2 separate regions of the Homo sapiens genome follow, and region 2 is linked to region 1. Evidence: promoter capture Hi-C in 16 types of primary human blood cells and fetal thymus (Javierre and others, 2016). All regions are on one chromosome and are shown on one strand. Each heading gives the region's core, a stretch centred on a gene start or on the middle of the fragment in contact. The rest is flanking DNA. Distances are from core to core; before and after follow the strand shown.

Region 1 (5,611 bases), core at 1,527-4,026:
GATGGATGACAGTAAATTAAAAGTGAAAGGTAATACTTTCAGAGTTTCTGAATAAAATTGCAGCAGACATGTTGGCAGTCTGTTCTGGTCTGAATGTCTCCCAAAATCAATGTGTTGAAACTTAATTAACAATGTGATAGCATTAAGAGGTAGGGCCTTAGCAGGTAATTAAGTCATGAGGACTCATGAATGGGATTAGTGATTTTATAAAAGGGCTGGAGGGAACTAGCTAGGCCTCTTTTGTCCTTCCGCTATTATGCCATGTGAGGACACGGCAACAAGGTGCCATCTTGAAAGCAGAGAGCAGCCCTCACCAGGCACGGAATCTGCCAGCACCTTGATCTTAGATTTCCCAGCCTCCCAGAACTGTGAGAAATAAATTTCTGTTGTTTGTAAGCTACCTATTCTATGGTATTTTGTTATAGCAGCAGAAATGAGCTAATACGTGGTCCAACAAAGACGTGTGCACCTCTTCCAGCGATTGAAACTATTGTTGGGGAGAGGTTGCCTAATTAGTGATGACGTTTCTCAGCCACCTTTGCACCTGAATGGGTCCATGTGACTGAGTTCTGGCCAATGGAATGTGGACTGAAATGGTGTATAACAGTGCTTCTCAAATTATCTGTTGTAATGAACCATTTCCCAAATGGTTCCCCCACTCTATCATGGGGGAAATAATGCATTTTGGCTCACTGCAACCTCTGCCTCCCAGGTTCAAGTGGTTCTCCTGCCCCAGCCTCCCAAGTAGCTGGGATTACAGGCACACGCCACTACGCCTAGCTAATTTTTGTGTTTTTATTAGAGACGGGGTTTCACTATTTTGGTCACGCTGGTCTCGAACTCTTGACCTGGTGATCCACCCACCTCAGCCTCCCAAATTGCTGGGATTACAGGCGTGAGCCACTGCGCCCAGCCAGTTGCAATACCATTTTCATAAAACTCAAAACCAACCACAACTAAAAAATATACCGTTTAAATATACATACATATGTGATAAAATATATACATGAGAAAGAGAAACAAAATTCAAGGTAGTTATTTATTTATTTTTTGAGATTCGGTCTCACTCCGTAGCCCAGGATGGAGTGCAGTGGCACGATCTCGGCTCACCACTGCAACCTCTGTCTCCTGTAACCACCATCTCCCAGGCTCAAATGATCCTCCCACCTCAGCCTCCCGAGTAGCTGGGACTACAGGTGTGCACCACCATGCCCGGCTAATTTTCACCATGTTTCCCAGGCTGGTCTCCAACTCTTGTGCTTAAGCAATCCTCTTGCTTTTGTCTCCCAAAGTGTTGGGATTTCAGGCGTGAGCCACCGTGCCCAACCAGTAGCTGTGATTAAAGTAGGGTACAGTCAAAGGAATAGGTCAGAGGAGGAAATCGCAGATTGATGTGAAGGCGTTGGTAATGTTCTGGTTCCTACACAGGTGAAAGGTGTACAGGTGTTTAACTGCTATGCTTTTTATCTCACACATCGCATAAATTTTTCTGTGACATAAAATATTACATAACATTTAAAAAACAGGTCAAGAGGGCAGGGTGCAGTGGCTCACGTCTGTAATCCCAACACTTTGGGAGGCCGAGGGGAGCGGATCACCTGAGGTTAGCAGTTCGAGACCAGCCTGGCCAACATGGTGAAACCCTGTCTCTACTAAAAATACAAACAAAACAAAACAAAACAAAATCCGGTTGGAGTGGTGCATGCCTGTAATCCCAGCTACTCGGGAGGCTGAGGCAGGAGAATCGCTTGAACTCGGGAGGCGGAAGTTGCAGTGAACCGAGACCGCGCCACTGAACTCCGGCCTGGGCAACAAGAGCGAAACTCCGTCTCAAAACAAAAAACAAACAAATCCAAACAAACAAACAAACAAACAAAAACAGGTCAAGGATCAGAAAAGTAAAGTGAGTTGACACTCCATTTACACACAGAAAGCCCAATGTTTTTCTATTATATCAGGATACCTCTTCTAAAGAATGATAGCTTACCTTTCAATCAGAGAAATGATCTAAAGTTCAAAATGTTACTCCATAGCTAGCTCCTGGAGGAAGGAAGCTAGGTGGCAGCGTGTACACAAAAAGGCAATTCATCCAAATAATAATATAACAAGAATATAACAAGTAGGTATTTTCTGCTAAGTGCTATGTAGCACAGGGGTGAATGCGTGGCAGGGCAGGAGGAGGGCTGTTTACAAGAGGGTATGAAATGCAGCTCTTCTTTTCAAGAGTGGTTGCAGAATGCCAGGGCTACAAAGAGAGGGCCGCACATTAAGCATCGTATTATGTGGGTACAGAGTATTAGGGTTCTCGATGACCAGAAGGAGAATGAGTGCAGTTTGTTTCCTAGCAAGCCTTCTTTAGCTTCTCTTCCCAAGTGGGAGTGGGGTTGGGGTTGGGACTGTTCTTTCCTAGCTCAAAAGTTCACTTATGTCACACTAGGGTCAGTTTAAAGGAGAGTGCTAGTAAGGGTAAAGTCAAGTTACATAACCTAGCGGAAAATGAAGACCTAAAACCGCTCGTGAGCAAACACAACACTTTAGACGTAAACCTCTTCCAAAGAAGGGTGGATCTCAGCACTCTGGGTGAAAGCAATCTCAGCCAGTAAAACATCAGAACGCTTTCACGCACGCGCAGTAAGCACACGACCGGTGGCAAGAGCCCGGATAAAGGCGGAGCTAAAGGTGCCGGATAATGCATCACGGAGCGCGTGTGCGCACGCCGTAGGGGGCGGGCCGTTCGGGCTTGGTTTCCTGGGCGACCACCGCTGGCTAGTCCGTTAGAGGCGTGCGGGCTTCGGAGGCGTGCGGGCTTCGGGTGCCATGGGGACTCCTCCCGGCCTGCAGACCGACTGCGAGGCGCTGCTCAGCCGCTTCCAGGAGACGGACAGTGTACGCTTCGAGGACTTCACGGAGCTCTGGAGAAACATGAAGTTCGGGACTATCTTCTGGTGGGTGTTTCTTGTCCACCACCCGCCTCTCCCTGCCCGCAGGTGGTGTAGAAAGTTGCCTCCTTCCCGGCGATATTGCACTTGTGAAGGGCTGAGAAGAGCGGCAGTCACCGAAGGTTGCCTCCATGACTCCTGGACCTTCCCCTGTGCTCAGGCAACGCGCTTTCCCTGCTCTATTTCATTGTGCCCTGATGGTTGTTGCGGCCTCCTCCCAAATATGCGTCTCTGCCTGGCCTCCCTTCTAAACTCCTCTCTCCCATCTCCACCCTGAGCCAGGCCACTATCATTTGCCCTTCCCCAGTCTTGTTCTAGGACCTGATGTTTAAAAACACACAAGCAAAGACAAAACCCTTCAAGATTGAATTAATTTTTCCTCCAACAACCAAAGTTGTCTTTTTTTTTTTTTTTTTTTTTTTTTTTGAGACGGAGTCTCCTTTTGTCGCCCAGGCTGGAGTGCAATGGCGCGTTCGCGGCTCAGTGCAACCCTTCGCCTCTCAGGTTCAAGTGATTCTCTTGCCTCAACCTCCGGAGTAGCTGGGATTACAGGTGCCCGGCACCACGCCCGGTTAATTTTTTGTATTTTTAGTAGAGACGGGGTTTTACTATGTTGGCCAGACTGGCCTCGAACTCCTGATCTCGTGACCCGCCCGCCTCGGCCTCCCAAAGCGCTAGGATTACAGGAGTGAGCCACCGCGCCCGGCCCAAAAGTTGTTTTTCAAAAGTGCAAATTTGATTATGTCACTCCCCGACTTATTACTCTGTAGTGGTGCCCATTGCCTTTGGGATAACGCTTGAATTCTCTGACTTGCCAAGACCATTCCTCACTGGCCTTTGCCTATCTCTCCAGCTTCGCCTGCCAGTCCCCTCCATGCACTCACTTTCTTGCTCCAGCAGCTGCTTTTTTTTTTTTTTTTTTTTCTTTGGGCCCTCTACAGGCTTTTCCTAATCCTGGAGTTTCCACCGCAACTCTCTTGTTTTGTCCACCTTATTCTTCACTCAGGGTTAAGCTCAAATGACATCCTCGGGGGAAGTCTTTTTTGCTCTTCTAGACTGAGTACGCTGTTCATGTTTTTTCCCCGCATAGCACCCTGTTTTTATTTTATGTCACCGCTTTCCACATTTTGTTGTAATGGTATAGTTGAAAAGGCAGTGTGGGATTGTTAAGGGCATAGGTTATGGAACCCAATTGGCTGCATTTGATTGCAGGGTCCGCTATGACTTGGGGCAAGTTACTTGAGTTTCCATATCTGTAAAATAGAGGCAATGATAAACCTCATAGTAGTTGTGAAGATTAAATGAGCTGATATATCAGAAATACATTCTAAGTGCTCAATAAATGTTCATTATTATTATTTTTTTTTCTTGAGACATAGTCTTGCTCTGTCACCCAGGCTGGAGTGTAATGGTGCGATCTCCTATCACTGCAACCTCCACCTCCCGGGTTCAAGAGATTCTCCTGCCTCAGCCTCCCGAGTAGCTGGGACTACGGCTTGTGCCACCAAGCCTGGCTAATTTTTGTATTTTTAGTAGAGACGGGATTTCACCATGTTGGCCAGGCTGGTCAAATGTTCATTATTACTACCGTTTTAAAATTTTCCTTTGACTAGACTGACCTCTGTGAGGACAGTGACTGGATGAATCTATTTTTATTACCATAGTACATATAATATTAAAAAGGCGAAATAACTGATTTTCTGAATGAGTTAAACCTTATGATTAAAACTTTTTCTGAACAAAATGTAAAAACTCATTTTCTCTCTGTCAGTGTAAGCAAATTACCTTTGTAGTTTTTTAAATTGCAAGGAATGGAGGATGAAGAGCTGTTTGTTGTACAGTTAATAAAAGGAGAGAGACTTTTTTTTTTAAATGGCTACTACATGCCATTTATTTATAGCTTTATTTATTGCATAAGACAGTTATAAAAAGCAGGTATAATTATCCTTGTTTTATAGATGAGGAAATTAAGGCTTAAAGAGGTTAAGTAATTTCTCCACCATTACAAAGATAGTGGATTGTAGAGCAGATGTTGGAAACTATGTATCTGCCTGTTTCTAAAATCCGTTAATATTCCACTGTACCACTTCTTGGGGGGAAAAATGCATTTAAGGAAAAAGCTAAAAATGTAACATTTACATTTTCTAGTAGGGAGAACCTAAAATGATAAAAGAAGCAGGAATCACTAGAGTGGTGGATTTTCTTGAGAAATTACTTTGGTTACCGTAACTAGAGTAGGCATTTTGTATTCTTTTCCTATATTTATTATTTGAAGACCCAAAATGTCCTCCTACTACCCCCTTCCCTTCCACCCCTGCATTGTAATCAGATATAATAGAGCCCGTGTTTATGGCTGCAGGGCAAATGTCTTTATTGTTTGTTGCTGGTTTTAAAGTAAAAGTTCTACATATTTATATTTGTATAGCGTATTAGTCACTCGCATCAACACTTTGAGACATTTATTTTAGCTAATGTTTTATTTAAAATCTGGCATTTTTTATCTACTAATTTCAGGTCTTACATAGAAACCTATAATATGCACAAATGTGGCTTCATTGTTTTATCCAAAGTGGTAAGAAGACTGTTACATTGACTTTTTTAAGGCCTTGTTTTTTAAAATTTTTTGTTAACTTAGCACAGCAGAACAGTTTCAGATAGTTTATTCATTATGC
Region 2 (5,277 bases), core at 1,493-3,992, 330 kb before region 1:
AAATGCTTTAGTGGGAGCTCTTGTTTTGGGAAAATGAAAAATTTCTGTGTCTATCAATCACGGAAAGTATTCCCCACTGGTTTGATTCTGAAATTCAATCATTGCCTATGAAAGTTAAAAACATTTTTTTTTCCCTGTAGCTAGCTTTTACTCTGTCTCTTTAAAATACCTTTTTTTGGAGGAGAGGTGGAGCAAGATATGTGTAACTATAGTTTTTTCTTTTTTTGCTTAGATGGTTTAAAGAATTCTGCATGTCATAGTTGACATTCCATCATTATCCTGTGTTCCACAGTCAAGGCCAAAGGTTAAAAATAAGTTCTTAAAGGAAACAAAATTAAAGCAAGAGGGAATTACCTCTGAATTGTTTTAGGGACTCCTAGCATTTTGCATGAGTTTCTGTTGGTCTGGAGAATAGAAGGAAGCATGAAAGGTTTCATTCCTTGCAAATCAAGTGAAACTGGCTCCTACCCTCTTCTTCAATACAAACATGAAACAGAAAAAGTAGACTGGAAGACCAGAAAGGGCACAGATTTTTATACCATTTTCATCAGGATTACTATGTTCATGTTATGGAACCAATTTGTAAGTTTTGGGTAACAGCTTAAATAGAAACCTATAGAACTGAGGCAACCTTCTGTTTCTCAAAGACAGATGGTGAAGCAACATTTATAAATGCTTTACAGTTAGAGAGCATATGCTCTCGTCCACTGTTTTTTGTCTTTGTGATCAAAGAAGGATTTGAGGAATTTCTTTTAAAAATCAGTCTGTACAATAACTGAGTACATTACTTTCAGATAATGGAGAATAGTCACACCCATTGTTTTCAGGGCCTCAGGGAATCCTAGAATGTGTGTCTTGTGGACTGTGTCATAGTTGGCTAGTTACAGTGGCAGTTACTAAAATCAAATCTGTTTCAATTAATAAAGAACTTGACAATGAAACTAACAAGACCCATTCTAAAGACGCCAGGAAAATAAAATAAAAACCCATATGTACTAGGAATTGTAAATAGAGAGGAAGCAGAAACAATGTAATTTGAATTATCTTATTAAAATTTTAAAATATTAAAATTTAACTAGTTTCTCTTATTCAGCTAGAGACGGTATAAAAACTTGGCAGAAGTGTGATTTTTGTCTATCTGCTGGCCAGAATAATACTATATAGATGGGATTTTGTAGGTTTTAGTCTCTCTACCCCGCTGTCTTCCAATATGTATGCAGAAAAAGTAAACATGATCCCTAACCTTTCTGAAACCTTCTTTACCTTCAGTCTACACATACATAGTCTTGGGCAAAGAGTTATCAGGTAAATTCCATGGAATCAAGAGTAGAGGCATATGTTGCTTTTCTTAATAGGAAAAACAGTGACTGTGTCCCCCTAAATAAAGTCATGATTCAATGAAAAGACAAACAGCCCAATTTTAAAAAAATGAGCAAAAGATTTGAACAGACATTTTCTCAAAAGAAATATGAATGGGCAATACACACATAGAAACATGCTCAGCAATTTTAGGCTTTAGGGATATGCAAATTAAGACCACAATGAGATACCACTAGAAAGGCTAAAATGAAAAAGACCAACAACACTAAATGTTGGTGAGACTGTGGAGCACTAGAACTTTTCATATTTTTAGTGGGAGTTCAAAATGGTACAACCGCTTTGAAAAATGGTCTGGCAGTTTCTTACAGAACTAAACAGACCACTACCTTGTTACCCAGCAGTTCTTAGGTATTTACCCAAGACAAATGAAGCATATCTCTGTCAATAGAAAAGCAGATGCCAGCCATGGTATGATTTTGAACAGCCAGTGGAATAAAAGAATAGGGACTATATCTGACCTTGCTGTTAGAGTAGTTAGGCAGATATGAGCGGGGCAGGAGAGGCCCCCCTCCCCCACAGGAATGTCAGGCAACCATCAGGTGATGGTCAGGTGGTTGTTAAACTGTCTCACTAACATACTAGTTGGTCACAGCTTGCACCAGGGAAAGCAGACTCCCAGTAGATAGAAAACACCTTAAGCTCTTAATCAGCAGCTTCCTTTTTTTTTTTTTGAGATGGAGTCTTGCTCTGTTGCCCAGGCTAGAATGCGGTGTCGTGATCTCAGCTCACTGCAATCGCTGCCTCCCGGGTTCAAGCGATTCTCCTGCCTCAGCCTCCCGAGTAGCTGGGACTACAGGCACGTGCCACCACGCCTGGCTAATTTTTTATATTTTTAGTAGAGATGGGGTTTCGCCATGTTGGCCAGGATGGTCTGGATCTCCTGACCTCGCGATCCGCCCGCCTCGGCCTCCCAAAATGCTGGGATTACAGGCGTGAGCCGCGGCACCCGGCCAATCAGTAGCTTCCTCATAGGATCTCAGGCGTTGGATGAGTGGGCTCAAACTTGCATGCTAAGAGACAAAATGGTGGAGTTTAGCTGGTGTATGACCTTCCTCTAGGAACACTCAATTGGTAAGGGAAAAATGCCTCAAATGAACATGTGCACAGCTTCAGTAAACACACTGTACATGCGGCCCTTCCCAAGTGCTGGCAGGCCACTGCACATGCGGACAGCCCACCCCAAGGAAAAACCAAGGGAGGAGAGACACAAACCTCAGCACCATGCCATTGTGTAAAAATCCCAAGTCAAGCGTCGGACAGGGTCCTCGGATCTCTCAAATTGCCCACTTGGCCCTCTTCCACGTGTACTTTGCTTCCTTTCATTCCTGTTCTCAAACTTTTTAATATACTTTAACTCCTGCTCTAAAACTTGCCTTGGTCTCATTCTACCTTATCCTCTCTGGCCAAATTCTTTCCTCCAAGGAAGCAAGAATCGAGTTGCTGCAGACCCATATGGATTCGCTGCTGCTAATGTTGCCATTTGGATTTTTTTTTCTTTTTAGAGTGTTCTAGAATGCATGCTTAGAGAAGGGAATGTAATCCTAGGACACCACTCAGCTCTGCAACAGTATAGCTCTGCAGTAATGAGTAAATGCTGTTTGTTGGTTTACTTTAAAGCTCTGCTACTGAATATATACAAATATACTGTTATATTTTCCTGGTAAAACCTTTTATTATACAATCACTTCTTTTTATTTCTAGCAATTCTTTCTTTTACAGTGTATTTTATCTGACGTTAATGTGGCTGCATTGCATGTCTTTTGGCTAGTATTTGCCCTGCTTTGCATCTTCTTTAATTCATTTACTTTCTACTTTTTCTACCTATGTCTTAGGTTTGTGCTTTATAAACAACAGGTGGTTAGATTTCCTATTTCTAGAAGTTTATTGAGATTCTCCCTCTACCACTGTCTCTACCAATTCCATTTTTTCCCACCTCTATTGGTTTGGAAGATAGAATCTCTCTCTCTTTTTTTTTTTTTTTAAGTGATTATACTTGGAATTTTAACATGTCTGTGTAACTAAGTCTAAAGTTAGCTACCACTTTACCCTCCTACTGAGCAATCTAAGGATGTTAGAATGTTTTTAACTCCAGTCACTTTCCTCCTGGCTTATGTGCATTTCCTTGATATTTTTGATATCTTTTTATTTTTCTTTTGAAGCTCCATTAACTAGATGTTATTAGTTATTCCATCCTTCTTTGTTTCTATTTACTTACATGTTTATAATTTTTTAACATACCACTTTCTTGTATAGCTCAAACCTTCCCTCGAACATTTCCCTCCTTCTTCAAGTAGATTCTCTTCAAGTACATTCTTTATTTAGCGAAGGTATTTGGTAGTGAACAATCTCAGTTTTCTGAAATATCTTTATTTTGCCCTCATTCTGGAAAGCTAGTTTCTTACTTTATTTTTTTAATAGACAGAGGGTCTTGCTTTGTTGCCCAGGCTGGTCTTAAACTTCTGGCTTCAAGCAGTCCTCCTGCCTTGGCCTCTCAAAGTGCTGGGATTACAGGCACGAGCCACTGCGCCCAGCAGTAACGCTAGTTTCACTGGGATCATGGACTCTTAAGAGCTAGAAGGAACTTCACTGATTATTTGACTCAGCCTTTTCCATTTCCAGAAAAGCCTGCCACCAGGCACAGAAAGAATACATGACTTCCAGAGTCCCTCGCTATATTGTCCAGACTGGTTTTGTACTCCTGGCCTCAAGTGATCCTCCCACTTCAGCCTCCCAAAGTCCTGAGATAATAGGCGTGAGCCACCGTGATCCCCTTTACCTTTTTCTTTTTTTTTTTCCTTTATTTCTTCTTAATAAAAAAAAAGTGGGGGGGATACATGTGCAGAGCGTACAGGTTTGTTACATAAGTATACGTGTACCATGGTGGTTTGCTGCACCTATTGACCTGTCCTCTAAGTTCCCTCCCCTCACCCCCCAACCTCTTCAAAAAAAAAAAAAAAAAACTATCAAAAAATGGTGGCCGAGGTTCAAAGCTCTCACCTTGGTTTTGTGATAAAGGTGGTTAATCTTTGGTGTTGGATTTCAAATTAGTCTGTTTACAGTGAGCAACAGTACAGCAGTTTTAAAAATCATGTTGAATCAGAAACATGAAGAAGGCAGCAGAGCTTTCTCTCCACCATGCACTTGGAGAAGGAAATGACTCGGCAGCATACTCCTCATGGCTAATATCCTTTAAGATTTTTCCAAAATCATGAAACCAGAACTTGAGAGCTTAAAAGGGACTTTAGAAGTCTACCAGTGGATAAGAGAGAAAAAAAAATCAAAAGGGAAATGGAATAAGCCAAACTAAAGGGCAGGATTCTTTTAGTTCTCAGCAGGAAACATATGTTTATCTGGAAAAGATTTTGGTTGGACAGGTTGTTTGTGTAAGAATCTTTTTTGTGAGGAAGGAAGATCAACCTGGGCTTGAAGGCTGGGGTGGGGGTAGAGAGAACAGTCCCTGAGCTTCAAGTAAATGAGAAAAATACACAGATTTTAAACAGAGGAGCCCTGCTTTCACGGGGATCATATGATCGTGCTATCAGCTTACTTTTAAGTTGTGATAATGTATACATACTTTATGAAATATGATTAAATGGTAACTTTAGTATTAGTGGCTACAAGAACAGAAACAGCAACTTTTAAAAAGATATGAAAAGATGTTTTGGGTGAAAGTAGTTGGCTGCGCAACACATAGAGTATAACATACATCATTAATTTAAGACTGTAGATGTACAGTATATATTTGGCATGTACACCAGGATTTTCAGTGATTATTGATGTAATAAGATTTATGATTTTTAAAAAGAAACTCTTCATGATAGTTTTCTGTACCACTTACATTTTCCATAGTGATCATCATATTGTCTTTATAAACAATGACAACAATAAATCAAAAAG

The links. Contacts are between HindIII fragments. The CHiCAGO score rates a contact against its expected background, and 5 or more counts as called.
Region 2: a contact is called between a fragment that was not itself captured here and the fragment with the promoter of SNAPC1 in region 1, in 4 of 17 cell types (total CD4 T cells, activated CD4 T cells, naive CD4 T cells and 1 more). The highest score is 6.7, in total CD4 T cells.

The regions. Positions count from the first base shown.
Region 1 is chr14:61,759,644-61,765,254 of GRCh38, forward strand. It overlaps SNAPC1 (small nuclear RNA activating complex polypeptide 1), which reads left to right and starts at 2,777. Exons shown (of 10, transcript NM_003082.4): 1 at 2,777-2,945. The coding sequence starts at 2,818. RefSeq lists enhancers at 771-1,515, 1,516-2,259, 2,103-2,192, 2,260-3,003, 3,004-3,747. The HindIII fragment of the contact is 7,963 bases long and covers 1-5,611 here.
Region 2 is chr14:61,428,722-61,433,998 of GRCh38, forward strand. All of the region lies in intron 2 of PRKCH (protein kinase C eta), which reads left to right. Among named protein-coding and RNA genes, the nearest start is that of PRKCH-AS1, 110 kb to the left of the region's middle. The HindIII fragment of the contact is 5,538 bases long and covers 1-5,277 here.